Regions from separate parts of the Homo sapiens genome. Here regions 2, 3 and 4 are each linked to region 1. Evidence: promoter capture Hi-C in 16 types of primary human blood cells and fetal thymus (Javierre and others, 2016). All regions are on one chromosome and are shown on one strand. Each heading gives the region's core, a stretch centred on a gene start or on the middle of the fragment in contact. The rest is flanking DNA. Distances are from core to core; before and after follow the strand shown. Region 1 holds the start of PCDHA9 (protocadherin alpha 9). Region 2 holds the start of PCDHB6 (protocadherin beta 6). Region 3 has its middle 14 kb from the start of SLC25A2. Region 4 has its middle 2.2 kb from the start of PCDHB12.

The links. Contacts are between HindIII fragments. The CHiCAGO score rates a contact against its expected background, and 5 or more counts as called.
Region 2: a contact is called between the fragment with the promoter of PCDHB6 here and the fragment with the promoter of PCDHA9 in region 1, in 6 of 17 cell types (neutrophils, monocytes, erythroblasts and 3 more). The highest score is 8.8, in neutrophils.
Region 3: a contact is called between a fragment that was not itself captured here and the fragment with the promoter of PCDHA9 in region 1, in 4 of 17 cell types (M0 macrophages, M2 macrophages, M1 macrophages and 1 more). The highest score is 7.4, in M0 macrophages.
Region 4: a contact is called between a fragment that was not itself captured here and the fragment with the promoter of PCDHA9 in region 1, in 4 of 17 cell types (monocytes, M1 macrophages, M0 macrophages and 1 more). The highest score is 6.9, in monocytes.

Annotation. Positions count from the first base shown.
Region 1 is chr5:140,846,720-140,850,330 of GRCh38, reverse strand. PCDHA9 (protocadherin alpha 9) reads right to left here and starts at 1,949. Exons shown (of 4, transcript NM_031857.2): 1 at 1-1,949. The coding sequence starts at 1,835. The region is part of intron 1 of PCDHA1 (protocadherin alpha 1); the gene reads right to left. All of the region lies in intron 1 of PCDHA2 (protocadherin alpha 2), which reads right to left. The region is part of intron 1 of PCDHA3 (protocadherin alpha 3); the gene reads right to left. It also overlaps PCDHA4, PCDHA5, PCDHA6, PCDHA7, PCDHA8 and PCDHA@. The HindIII fragment of the contact is 21,410 bases long and covers 1-2,667 here.
Region 2 is chr5:141,148,242-141,151,676 of GRCh38, reverse strand. It overlaps PCDHB6 (protocadherin beta 6), which reads right to left and starts at 1,620. Exons shown (of 1, transcript NM_018939.4): 1 at 1-1,620. The coding sequence starts at 1,419. It also overlaps PCDHB@. The HindIII fragment of the contact is 6,099 bases long and covers 1-3,435 here.
Region 3 is chr5:141,287,846-141,291,391 of GRCh38, reverse strand. No RefSeq gene overlaps it. Among named protein-coding and RNA genes, the nearest start is that of SLC25A2, 14 kb to the left of the region's middle. The HindIII fragment of the contact is 1,340 bases long and covers 1,567-2,906 here.
Region 4 is chr5:141,204,689-141,208,344 of GRCh38, reverse strand. It overlaps PCDHB@. Among named protein-coding and RNA genes, the nearest start is that of PCDHB12, 2.2 kb to the left of the region's middle. The HindIII fragment of the contact is 2,869 bases long and covers 643-3,511 here.

The DNA.
Region 1 (3,611 bases), core at 700-3,199:
TGCAGCTCGTATGAAAGCCACGCGTTGTAGCCCGAGTCGGCGTCCACTGCGCGCACCTTCCCCACCACTACGCCGGCGCCCACCGACCGCAGCACCATCTCGCTCACTGCGCCGTCAGTGCCCCTCATCCGAGGTGTCAGCAGCGCCGGCGCATTGTCGTTCTCGTCCAGCACGAACACCTGCAGCGTCACGTTGCTGCCCAGAGGCGGCACGCCCGCGTCGCGCGCGCTCACCTGGAACTGTAGCAGCTCCAGCTCCTCGTGGTCCAACGGCTGCAGCGCGTACACCTTGCCGCTCTCCGCGTGCACTGACACGTAGCTCGACAGCGAGCGCTCGCCCAACCGCCGCTCCACCAGCGAGTAGGACACCAGGGCGTTCTCCTGCGCGTCAGCGTCCCGCGCAGACACCGTGAAGATGTGGCAGCCCGGCGGGTTGTTCTCCTTCACGAACACCGTGTACTCGGACTGCGCGAACGCTGGTGCGTTGTCGTTCACGTCGGCCACCTCCACAGACACCCTGGCCGTGGCCCACAGTGAAGGCGAGCCCCCGTCCCGCGCGGTAACCACCAGCTCGTAGGCGGACACACTCTCGCGGTCCAGAGCTCTGTCCAGCACCAACGAGTAGTAATTCTTGTAGGTGGACACCAGCTTGAAGGGGACGTGGGGCGTCAGGGAGCAGGTAACCTGCCCGTTGGCATCTGCGTCTAGGTCGATCACACTAATCAGGGCAATAACTGTCCCCAGTTGTGCGTCCTCTTTTACAGGAACCGAGAGCGTTTTGATAGTCAACTGTGGAGCATTGTCATTTACATCCACAACTTCCACAAGAAGTGTACAATGACCAGCCAGGGGTGGGAAGCCTTTATCGACAGCCTCGACTGGGATCTTGTGTGCTCTACTTTCTTCAAAATCCATATGTCCTATCACTGTGATTGCCCCACTTAAGGGGTCCATGTGGAACTTGGATTTTATATCTGGAGAAACATCACTGGAGAAGGAGTAAATAATATCCCCATTCAAGCCTTCGTCTAAATCTGAGGCATTGGGGTGAATCACCAGCGTTCCGATAGAAACGTTTTCTGGTAATTTCACCGTATACAGGGTTCTGTCGAACACTGGGGCATTGTCATTGTTGTCCAGTACCGTGATGAGTAATTGAACGGTGCCAGTCAGCTCGGGTTTGCCTCCATCGGTGGCCGTGAGCAATAAATGAAGCTCCGGAGTTTCTTCTCTGTCTAAAAGTTTCCGTAATACAAGTCCAAGAGGTTTTACCTGCTGGTTGCTGGTTGGCACGTCCAGGAAGAAATACTCATTGGGGCTCAGTCTGTAAGTGAGCAGGGCGTTCTCCCCGATATCTGCATCGGACGCGCCCTCTAGTGGAAACCGAGAGTCAAGCGGCCTGGATTCCGCGATGAACAGATTCTTTTGTGTCGCTGGGAACACTGGAGGGTTGTCGTTAATGTCCTTCACCTCCACGTCCACATGGAAAACCTGCAGCGGCCTGTCTACGATCACCTCCAGGTGGATGCTGCACTCCGCGCTCCGCCCGCACAGCTCCTCGCGGTCGATCCGAGAATTCACAAACAAAATGCCATTCTGCAGATTTACCTCCAGAAGGTCCCCGCGGCCTTTGGAATCCAACTGGAACAGGCGCGGCACCAGCTCCGCCAGCTCCAGCCCCAGGTCCTGCGCGATGCGGCCCACGAAGGTGCCGTGTTCGGCTTCCTCCGGGACGGAGTAGTGGAGCTGGCCGCTCCCCACCACCCACATTGCGAGGATCAGAAGCGAGAGCAGTAGAGGCTGACCCTCTGGATCTCCTCGACTTGAGTATAACATTTCAAATACTCAGTCTTCTTCTAATTAGTGAAAATTGCCTCCAAATTAGAAGAAATCATCTGATTTCGTCAGTCCCATTCTGCTGTGTTCGCCATCGTTCAGCACAGAGAGAGTGAAAAAGAATTGAGCCTCTTTCCCATGGGAAAAGGGCTGTATTTGTCTGGATTCAGAGAGAACATCGCGGCAAAGAGTGACATCACGTGGCCCAAAGTGTAAGTACATATTTCATGAATAAAAATTTCACAGTTATTCTGCAAAACTTATTTCATTTTCTTAATTTTTTCTTAAGTAATGATTGTTGAAACAGAAGATCCCGTTTCTCTTGCTGGAGCCTTCTTAGCAGACTGACTGCCTCTAAAAGTTTTGTATGACCTTGATTGTGGTTTTCTTATCCCTGAGAAAACTCTCCACTTAAGTTTTAAATAACGACAGAAATGAAGTAACAATTAAAATGATTCCATTGAGCAATCACGAATTTTAAATTACAAAATTCTTTTGTTCTGGAATTCAGAATCTCCCATATGGCTCGAAATAGGATTCTAGTGTAAGAGAAATCCAGGAGTTGCAATCTCTAGTGAATATAGGAGCCCAGAAATCTACTGATGAAAAAGAAACTTAGTCATGTCTGGTAAAAGGAATCAACAAAAAGTAGCAACCAACTGAGGTAGTTTTCTTGAGTAATTCTATGAATTGAAAAGGTATAAAATATTGCAAGAAAAGCGAGAATTGACTTTAAGGTCTTGTGTTGCGTGGGGAGAAAATATATTTTTCTCTTTTGTAGCATTTATACAATCTGTTTCCAGAAATGTGTTGTTTTGATTCTTTCCAAGCTTTATAATCTATGAATAATCTCTTCTTTGTAGTCTCCAATATAGTTTGTGTAATGTTATTACAATATGTTTTAATTTCATTATTGCTCATCCTTAGTACTCGGGGCAATTTCTGTTTTTAAAGCTATGCTTGAGATTCTTTTCCTGACTAAGTTCTACAAAGTTTTGTTGTGAGTTTTACTATCTTATTCCAACGTCCAAGTCGATTAATTAAATCTAGATTTTAGTGTATCTCAAGTCTAAAGGCAAAACCGTGAGTGTTTATTGTGCCATTAATGTTTTTGCATATTTATCTTTTATTTCGTATTTCTACTGATAACAGCCTAAGAGGTGCATTTAACAATTGCTTCTGTCCTTGATTACTGCAGGAGCTTCTGAGTTTGTCTTCCCGTTCAACCTTCTTTCAAAAGTCGTGATTTATTTTGCTCAAGGTAGTTAAATAGCTCCCAATTAATTCTAAAGAGTGGCCAAATTCCTTAATCACTCATGGCCCTTTAGTTTATTACTCAGAAATCAAGAGATCTTCTTACATTGGTTTTCCTGCTTTCATTCTCTGCAGACTGTGTGTTTTAACCAAAGTGGACTTTTCTACTTGTCATATTGATGCTTTCTGTGTCTTCAACTTTCCTTATGTTTTCTCTTTCCAAGAAATGTCTATCATTCTCAATATTCTCCCGGGGGGAACTTACTTATTTTAAAACCACTGAAACACACCATGCCCCTTCAAGTATTTCTTCAAAAATTCAAATAGGAAATGATTGTCTTTCAACTTCAACGTCATTCTGATTTACCTCTTGTACCTGTTACATTATCTTGCCTTGCATTGTGTGACTCATATTCTTTATTTGACCTCAAATTTTAAAGCCAGGGGCTGGGGCTCAGTAATAATTCCTGACATGATGATATGCTGTTAGAGATCTGTAAGGGTCCTATTTAATGTTTAATG
Region 2 (3,435 bases), core at 371-2,870, 300 kb before region 1:
GGCGCTGACGCTGCCGATGTGCAGGGCGGGGCTGTTGTTCTCGCGGACGAACAGGGTGTAGGAGGTTTGGGTGAAGGCGGGGGCGTTGTCATTGACGTCGGAGACCTGCACAGTTATGCTCTGCTGGGTTTTCAGCCTTGGTGTCCCCAAATCAGTGACCGTGATAGTGATGTTGTACTCGGCTCTGCTCTCTCTGTCCAGCGCGCCTTCTGTTACCAGGGTGTAGAAATTCTCCACGGAAGGTCTTAGTAGAAAGGGGAGATTGTTCTCTATTGAACAAATAACCTGTTGGTTATGTCCAGAGTCTGCATCTGAAACACTGAAAACTGCCACTGTGATCTCTGGTAAGTTTTCTGGGATGAGGCTGATGAAGAACGACATGGTGAGTTCAGGGGCATTGTCATTCACGTCCAGGACCCTGACGACTAAAGAGCATTTTCCTGATAGGCCTCCACCATCTGTAGCCTCAACATCCACGTCATAAGACTGAATTTCCTCAAAATCCAAAGCCTTTCTCAGCCGAATTTCTCCTGTGATTGCGTTTATTTCGAAGGGTTGGTTGACGTCATCGACTTGAAACAGGGCGTAAGATACCTTCCCAAACGATCCTGCATCTAAATCTCTGGCTGAGACGGTAATAACCAGAGAGCCGAGGGGGTTGTTCTCAGGGACTTGTGCTTCATAGAGCTCCTGAGCAAACTCGGGGACGTTGTCATTGATGTCCAAAACCTGGATCTGAATCTCGGAGGTCCCTGACCGGGGCGGAGACCCGCCATCCAGCGCGATCAGCGTTAGCCTGAGTTGGGGCTGCTCCTCGCGGTCCAACGGTTTGTCTAGCACCAGCTCCGGGAACTTCCTGCCTTCGCTGCGATTGCGGGTGAGAACGTGGAAGTGAGGGTTGGAGCTGATTGTGTACCTCTGAAGGCCGTTGCTGCCGGTGTCTAAATCGTGTGCCATTTTCAAAGGAAATATCTTTCCTGGCATAGTAATTTCTGATATTTTCAGGAGCATTTCTCTGGCAGGGAATTCCGGGGCGTGGTCATTTATATCTCTGACTCGCAAGGAAGCCTGAAAAAACTGCAAGGGGTTTTCCAGTAACACTTGGAAAGGTAGCACACACGGCTCAGTGGAGCCACACAGCTCCTCCCGGTCCAGTTTTTCATTTAGCAGTAAATCATGGGTCTGTGGATCAAACTGCAAATGTTGTCTGTTCCCTTTGAAAACAACCCGAGCGCCCCGCGAAGCCAGCTCCCCCACCCTCAGTCCCAGGTCCTTTGTCAAGTTGGCCACAAACGTGCCACTTTCTGTCTCCTCCAATACGGAATACTGAATCGATTCAGAACCCACCTCTCCCCAAAGCATCAATAAAATGAAGAAAGCCACTTGCCTTTTCTTGTTCTGTACTTTAGTTTGCATCATGTCTATTATGTCTGAATACGGAAGAAAAATCCTTTTCAGCTCCCAATCACCACATCTACCGTCGACCCTCTCGGATGTCTTTGCAGAGATTTTTAAATTCGTTCTTACAACTTGTCTGGCGACGACTGCCTTCCCGGACACATCTATCTCAGCTTTAGCTGTAAACGTGGTCTGTATTTTTACTTGGCTTCTGGATGAAACGGAGTCCACCGAGTCTGCAGAGCTTTCATTCACTCTCTTAGCTTGTACCGCCACCACGCGTTCAAACTAATAACTTCATGAGATGTTTTCAGGTCAATAGCATTTCAGAAATCTGAGCATTATAAAGACTTTTAAGTCGAGTCAGTGTTTCTCAAACTGAGTGCGTGGACCGCATGCATAAATAATTGCTTGCGAGCGTTGGTTTTTTTGTGTGTATGTTTTTGTTTTTAAGCCAATTCCTGGGTTCACTCCCCTCTAGAACTTGAATCAAATTCCCTGGTGGTGCTAATTAAGGAGAAAGATTGAAGTGCAGATTCTACACTTCAGTCTTTCTCCTTTGATGCTTCAGCAGTGCAATTTATCTCTGATGAACTATTTAATCTATTAGTCCAAGAGGTACACTATTTAATTGTCCCAACAAACAATGCAAAACAACGAAGTTTGTTAGCAACAATAATGGTAAAATAAACAATAAATTATCTAAATTATATGACTCATAAATGGCATGAAAAAAAAAACCTACTTTGTTATATAGTTATGCCTGCACAGTAAAAAGAACAATTAGGCTATTAGGAGGAAAACTGAGGCCAAGAAGTACGTATGATACATGTATCTAAGTAAATTAAAGTATTTAAAAGAGGGACTAGAAGCAATCAAGTAGTTGTCATAAGCATTTTAGGATTCTACTCCATTTTTGCATGGATAGAATTAGACATTGTTTTAACAGTCTTGTGCATTTTATTTTTTGATCAAATTCCCCTCTTACATTATTTAATCAAGGTCCAAATATATTACCGTGTTGTACAAACATGATGCAACACAGAAAACAAACATTCAAGAATCACCTTCACCGTCTTCTCACAGCAAAAAGAACACCAAGTCCAATAAATACAGGCCAAATTAAGGTACTGTTAAAACAGGTGAGTTACATTTGAGTGAATGCCATGGAATTCAATGATGGAATATTATGGCTATATCCATTCCCATCTCACTAGTTTCTACTCAGATACATTGGAACATGTATCTCTAAACAAACTGAAAATGTGTGAAATAGATTAGTGCACATAGAAGAGGTAAAATATGCCAAACAATTCAATTCATTTCAGATTAATTTCATATTTATTGAGAGGTGAAATCAATTGAGTTCAAACAAAGTTCACTTCAGGTAAGGGCCAAGGTGATAGAAGATTAAAAATCAAGATATTTTCAAATACATAAATGCTAGGCAAAACAAATAAGGCTAAATAAAATCTAAACTCTGAATAGCTGAGATGATCTTGTAGTTCAAAATCACCTCTATGTAGCCAGAAAAACAAAAGATTATGAATGTGACCAGCCTCCAGGGTTCACTTGATAGATGCTACTGGGAACACACTGTTCCTTGAGAATGTAACAAAATGAAATTATGAAATAAACCAACAATAATAAACATATTGGACTGGTGTCATCTCTTTGCTGAAACAAGGCCATTATTTCCTGCTCAATCTTAAATGCTTCCTTCTTTCGGTGAGCATTCTGAGTTCTGATTCCAGCTTAACGGCATCCACAAAGTCTTTTATTCACTCTGTTTCTCTGAAGCACCACCAGGCATCCTCGAATATAGGTTGTTGAATTATTTTTTTACGTCAGAGCAAATTTATCAGCAGTACAGTATTTGTCAAACTCCATTTAGATCCTTGAAATGTCTTTGATAACATTGGTAGTTATATAGAAAGAGGATAATAGCTCAAAGTACCCCAAAAAGATATCAGTTGGGTCTATCAAGAAACTGCCTTTTTATAGAAAATGGATTACGTTAGATTGTTTCAGGAGAAT
Region 3 (3,546 bases), core at 987-3,486, 440 kb before region 1:
TCTGCCATGAGTTAAAGCTCCCTGAGGCCTCCCCAGAAACCAAGCAGATCCTGGCACCATGATTATATAGCCTGTAGAATCATGAGCCAATTAAACCTCTTTTCTTTATAAATTACCCAGTCTCAGGTATTTCTTTTATTTATACTTCTAGCAGTGCAAGAACAACCTAACACAGTGTCCCATTGTCATCTACTCAGTCTCTAATAGGGCTAAGGAGCATGATAGTATCTATTTATAAGCACTGAGAAATTTCCTACTGTAGAAGGCATGGATCTACCCCATTTAGATTTACTGTCTATACCATTGAAAGATTTGCACTTTAGCTTTCCTACTGTGCCATGCCAGAAATTCCACACAGCATTGTTATCCATCATGGGCATTACTAGCAACACTGGAGTGGCTGGTTTGTGTCAGATGGCTAGTATCATAGCCTGGACCTCTTACTCCAGAGTCTTCTCAAACCTGATAGCATTTTGAGTTCCAGATGTGGTATATGTTACCTCTAAAATCCAAAGAGACTGTGCCTCTTTCTTAATGGTAAGAAATGCAAGTGATAATGACTTATATTTTATCTCAGAGGGCATTTCTTTGCATGCCCAAGAACCCTAGAATCATTACTGATATGACAGTCACCTGAATATTCATAGGGTTAATATTTTACTCTTTGACATGCTAGACCATCTAGGGTCCTTGTTACTTACTACTCACTACTCACTGGGTCCAATTAGAATCATGTCATCTATGCAGTGATCTAGCATTATGTTCTATAGAATGTTCAATGTTGAAATATTTGTGGAGTACATTATGAAAGAAAGCAAGAGAGTTAACATAGCTTTGTAATAAGATAGTTGAATGTGTTCTGTTTTCTTATCATGAGAAGATGACTGCTTTTGATTTTATTCCCTGGTGGAATTTAAGACAAGTGCGTTCACCAGAAAAATAGCCACCTACCAAGTTGCCAAAGTTATACTGATCTACTCCAATAAAGATACCACATCTGGCATGACAGCTGCAATTGGAGCTACCATTTGGTTAAGTAAGTATATTGCAGTCCATTGTCATCACAACAATCTATCTAGTTTTTGCAGAGGGTGAACAAATGAATTAAATGAGAATTTGATGAGGACTATCACCTCTGTGCACTTTAAGCCTCAGGAGGTAGTGTTAATCTCTAAAAATCCTCCTAGGATGCAGCATTACTTATGATTTACTATCTTGGCTAGGGAAAGGGACATTTCAGGGTTTCCACTATAATGTGTCTTACTCTCTTATTTGTCAGAGAATAAATACAAAGGTTTGGCGTCAGAGGGTCCCAAGACCCCAGGTTTGGTAATTTTCTAAGACTCACAAAACTCAGCATGTAGTCATACTCGTGGCTATGATTTGTTACAGTAAAGGGATACAAGGCAAACTCAGCTAGGGGAAAAGGTATATCAGATAAAGTCTGGAGGAAACTAGGTATAAACTTCCAAGAATCCTCTCCCATTGGAGTCACACAGAATATGATTAAATCCTCCAGCATCAAATTGCACCAACAGGTGTAAAGTGTTATCTACCAGGCAAGCTTGCCTAAACCTAGGAATCCAGGGTTTTTATTGGGGACTGGTCATGTGGGCCTCTTCTGCCTAGTAGGTAGCAAAATCCCAGATTCCCCGAAGGAAAGCAGGTGTTCAGCATAAGCCACGTTGTTTGTATATACAGTTTAGGCACAGCAAACCACTTTTATCAGTTATGAAATGATGCAGACAATCTCAGAATCCAAGTCCCAAATGCAAGCCAAGGGCCTACCTTGTAAGCAGGGCCTTCGACGGCTTAGTAGTCTCAGGTCTGTTATATTAACTCTTTTCTTCTACCCACTTGGTCATTGTCCAAGGCATTTTTTACAAAAAGATTATTATCAATAGGATCCCACATGGCAGGGTGAGATCAGCCTACATTATTGGCCTCAGTTATGTCCTCCATGGCTTCTAGATTTGGCCAATTAAAACAAATCCTGGGAACAGGCACAGTGGTTCACGCCTGTAATCCCAGCACTTTGGGAGGCCAAGGTGAGTGGATCACCTGAGGTCAGGAGTTCAAGACTAGCCTGACCAACATGGTGAAACCCCGTCTCTACTAAATACAAAAAATTAGCCGGGTGTGGTGGCACATGCCTGTAATCCCGGCTACTCGGGAGGCTGAGGCAGGAGAATTGCTTGAACCCAGGAGGCAGAGGTTGCAGTGAGCCAAGATTGTGCCATTGCACTCCAGCCTGGGCAACAAGAGTGAAACTCTGTCTCAAAAAACAAAACAAAACAAAAAATCCCATTAACCATAAAGGTCTATCTTAGAAAGCCAGGTGTCTTTCTCCTTTAGTTTTTATATTAACCTTTTTTTTTCTTTTAATCTGGCCCAAGGCATCAACTCAGGCACAGCACATCTCTGACCAGTAAGTTAAAGTTAATCCGAATGCCTTGTAGGGCTGAGACAGTGTCATGATAGTCAGGGTACCCACAAAAGAAATATAAGCCCAGAGGGCACACACAGTACCCCTGGAAACAATGAGTTTACAGTTGTTAGGACACCCCAAGCAGGACATACAGTAGTCAGGCAATAAGGTTAAGAAGACCTCTAATGTAACCTTCCACTGTGGGCCCTCCTGCTCCAGGATTCTCAGTGCAGTCCAAATAACACAGGTCAGTCCTTAGATTCATAACGACTGCCTGAGGCAGTCAGTTCCAAACAGTTTTGTTCATGCATAATATCACTTCATCCATCTCATAAGTGTGGGTGACATCTGGAAGTGTTCCTCTGCCGTCTCATAGTCACCTGTGACCATGGGCTCAGCAATCTGTTTGAATTCAGAGTGCTCGCAGCAGCTTGGAAAGCCAGCATGGGGACTTCTCCTTCAAGAAGGGGGTAAAGCTTCCAGGAGCAGTTCTGAAAAACAAAAATCATTAACACCCTAACCTCTCCCTGTGCCTCCCAGGGGCTGGGTGTGGTTTCTCCATTGTTACAAAATCAGTGTGTCCCATTCACAATTATAACTTTATATTTTCAATCATCTCCTACTCACTAGGGCCTTTCATCCAGAAGGGTTATAAGCAAGAGGGAAAAAAGCATTTTCACAGAAAAACATTTTTACACAACTTAAGCAGAAAGACACATCATGGTAAGGAATTGGTCACAATGACCTGAATTTTCTAAGATTTTTCAAATTAAGTTTACACAGACTCTTATCCCTTTAGTCACAATCATTTATCCAGTGGCCAGCCTACCATCCCAGAGAAGAGCAGTTCCTTTTTGGGGACAGCTGCATTTAACAATCAAATTGTCTTAATATTCCAGTAAAAAGGTGAAGGAAGTAGATTCAGGCTGTAAGTCAATTGTTGCAAGTTGCAACCAATCCAGAAATCTAAACACAAATCTACAGCAGTGGGACTTTCTCCAGAGGAGGTCCAGAGTCTGATCTGTCAGGAATGGGGAGAGGGGTTACAGTCACTGTGATGTGCCCAGTCCTAAAGTGCAATTAGGAATGCAACCAGTCTCTGTATATCTCTCTGTATC
Region 4 (3,656 bases), core at 828-3,327, 360 kb before region 1:
AGCCTGAAACAAGCAGGGTATAAGTGATTGTTAAGCTGAATGAAATTCTATTACTACTTGGCTTTCCTTACGTGATAAGGTAAAGGAAAGGTCATCTCAGAAATCCTTTCTGAAGTTATGAAACTGGATTAACCATGAGATGAGGCATATATAGGTCAACACAACAGCATAAAAAGGCACTTCTGTAGATTTCCTTAATAGCAATGAATTGTGAACAGGCAGAAAATGAAGCAAGAGATTGGGGTGGAACATGTTATGTAAACCCATCATTTAGTTCCAGTTTTTCATAATTTACAAAAAAATTCATAAGTACACAAGCATGAGCAAGTTAGTTTAATTTAAAGCAGACTCTTATTCCTAAAGCTGACTTGCCTTAGGTTCCCAAAATTTATTGTAGCCACAACTGTAGCTATCTGTTTTCTCTTTCAGCCCAGGAAGAGAAAGTAAGAGTCTATCCCTAAACATAGAACAAAAACCTAACTTTCACTCTAATTAGACCAAGTAAGATCATGTGTCTGCCACTGAAGCAATCATTGTTTCAAGAGGTATAGAATTATAGTTGGAGATTTTAGTCCTAGAATCTAAAGACCTGTCTCTGGCCATTACTGTGTTTTAATCCTGTCTGGGACCACCTCTTAAGCTTGGGAAGGTTTCAGTCCTAGCCAAAGTACCTCATTGGTACAAAATGAGGGAGACTGTTTGCAACAGATGCTAAGGGCTCATCAGTGATATTCACTATAGAAAGTCTTAAAGTGCACTAAGAATGGATGGGAGAAGAATCCAACAAGTCTGCATTTTAAAATGTTAAATTCAATTAATATTCTTAAAAATGTAAGCTGGATACATGGTTGAAATAGTAATTGGTACAGAAGGGTAAAACTTGAAAAGTAGATGAATTGAGCACACACAATTAACCTCTCTTTTTAAAAAAAAATATGCACTAAAATGGCAGAAAAGTAATTAAAATGGTAGGAACTAACAAAGATTAAGAATACACAAGTGAACACATACATTTTTCTATGACAGAAAGCAGGTGGAAGAGCAATTAACTTAGCAGTTCCAAAAAGTGCCCCTAAAGTAAAGTTCCTGCATTGAAGATACTCACAAGAAACATAATCTCTTTTAAGCGCAAGATCTGGAGGAACCAGATGTTTAAGAAGACTGAAGTCAGTTAAGGATGGAAAAAAGTTATTAGTTGGAAGTATGTGTAGAGGATAATTGAATTCTCTGTTCTTCTCATCACCCTACATAGATGGAAACATAACTCACAGCCAGAAAATAGAAAGTTTATTCTCTGGAGAAATTTAATGGGACTTTCTCTAGTCTTGGGGATCTAGGCACAGCTGAGCACAAGTGTGAGGTGTCAAACTGAAAATAGGGAGAGTAAGCAAACCTTTGCATTTTGCATGGTGAGACTTCTAATCCCTTTTCATGCAATACTCTTAGACTGTAGGACACAAAGTGTATGCCTGACCCCTAGTCTATCCCCATAGTGTATATTGTAGAATTCTAACCTGGAGAATATGAAAGCCCAAATGAAGACACATATTAATATTTGGCATCTCATAAGGTAATAGACTTATCCTAGCATGGTTATATTAGAATGAAGCCCTGCCATCAACAGGTACTGTTCGCTCACAGAGTTGATTGTCAGCATTTTGATATATCATCCTTCTAAAATACGAGAAGATAGCCAAGGCATTTGAGGAAATGCCTGCAACATAACATAGAAAGACCAAAACTACCACCATCGCTACCATCAAGAAAAAAAAAAGGAACAATAATATAGAAAGCAGAAGAAAGCCTTTGAAAATGTCTGGTTAATATTCCCAGAGAAAGAAAATCTAATAAAAGCTAATACTTATTTAGTATTTACTCTATGCTACTCATTGTTCTAAGTGCCTCATAATGCATTTATCCATTTAATCTAAATAGTAGCTGTATGAAGTATGTATTTATCCACTTAATCTAAATAGTAACTATATGAAGTACATATTCCTATTGTAAGATGAAGACTAGATTAGGACTTCAGTGCTTTTTACTAGCTATATTACCTTGGACAAGTTCTTAACTCCCCTTAGACTCACTTTCACTTTTAAAATGGATATATAATAATGATACTGCCTAATGCATTTTTAAAGAAAAGATTAATTATAAATGAGAGAAAATATTACATTTATAAATCTATGACAGGATGCCATGAAAAACATTCAGAGAACCAAAAACAACTCTTAAAAGTAAATATTTTTCAGTCATAAAGAAAAACTTATACATAAAACATTGAGTGATTAAATAAATTGTCCAAAAAATGGAATGAGAGGCAAAGAGAAAATAAGAAAGGAAAAATGGCTTATAGTCTTATAGAGTCAATCTAGGAGGTCTAATATTTAACTGAGATTTTCATTGAAGTGAGAATCCAGAAAACTCAGAGGAGAAATTATGAGTAAAACATACCAAGGAAATTCCTTTTAACAAATTGTTTTTGTGTAGAGATAGGTTCCCACTATGTTGCCCAGGGTGGTCTCAAACTCGGGGCCTCAAATAATCCTGCCTCAGCTTCCCAAAGTACTGGGATTGCAGGTGTGAGTCACCATGCCCAACCAAAATTTCTCAGAAATAAAATTGATAGTCTGAACATTAGCCAAGGGGTCTAGCACATGCCTGTAGTCCCAGCAACTTGGAAGGCTGAGGCAGAAGTAGCTCTCGAGTTAGAGCTTGCAGGGTGCTGTGATTGTGCCTGTGAATAGCCACTGCACTCCAGCCTGGGTAACACAGTGAGACATCATCTTAAAAAAAAAAGAAAAGTTAAACATGAACAGGGCATAGCGATATAACCAGATTAATCAATAAAGAGCCAGTACTAAGGTATTTTCAGAAGACCAGGGGAATTTTTTTCAATGCTCACAGAAAGAAAGAAAAAAAGGGGGGGAATCACATAAAAAGACATAGGAATCAGAATGGAATCAGTCTTCTGAACAGCAATTCTATATGCAGTCAATAAAAGGAGCAGTGCTTTTGAAATCTGAGGGAAAATTATTTTCAACCTAGAATGTTATGCCCAAACTATCAATCAAATAAAAAAAAAGAAAATAACAAAGCAAGCTCTCAAAAAGTTTTATTTCCTCTGTATCCATTTTTATGAAGGTACTGAGAGATGTGCATCAACAAAATAAGTGAGTAAACTAAGAAAGAAGAATGTACTGGATCTTATAAAAAAGGACCAACAAAGAAAAATATTTTTTAAAGTCCTAGGGTGACAGCCTATAGAGCAACCAGTATGAATGAAGTAGAGATCTGGGTGCAAGATCACCAAGAAATAAACATAATTGACAGGTATCTGATATATTTGAATATTTTGAGAAGAAAGAGATTCAAATTAGAGAATGTAAAGAAACTAATATTAGTAAATGGAAAATTATGTAAGTACAAAACAATTTTCAGTTCTAGGAAAAATGTTTCTCAAGAAAGGAAATTTAATCACACTACACTAATGTGTATTTTGAAGAAAGCTTAGCAATATGGACACTATTAGTTTAACTTAAAAAAAACTGTAGGCTGGGCACTGTGGCTCACGCCTGTAATCTCAACACTTTGGGAGGCTGAGGCAGGAGGATCAGCTGGGGTCAGGAGTTCAAGACAAGCCTGGCCAACATGGT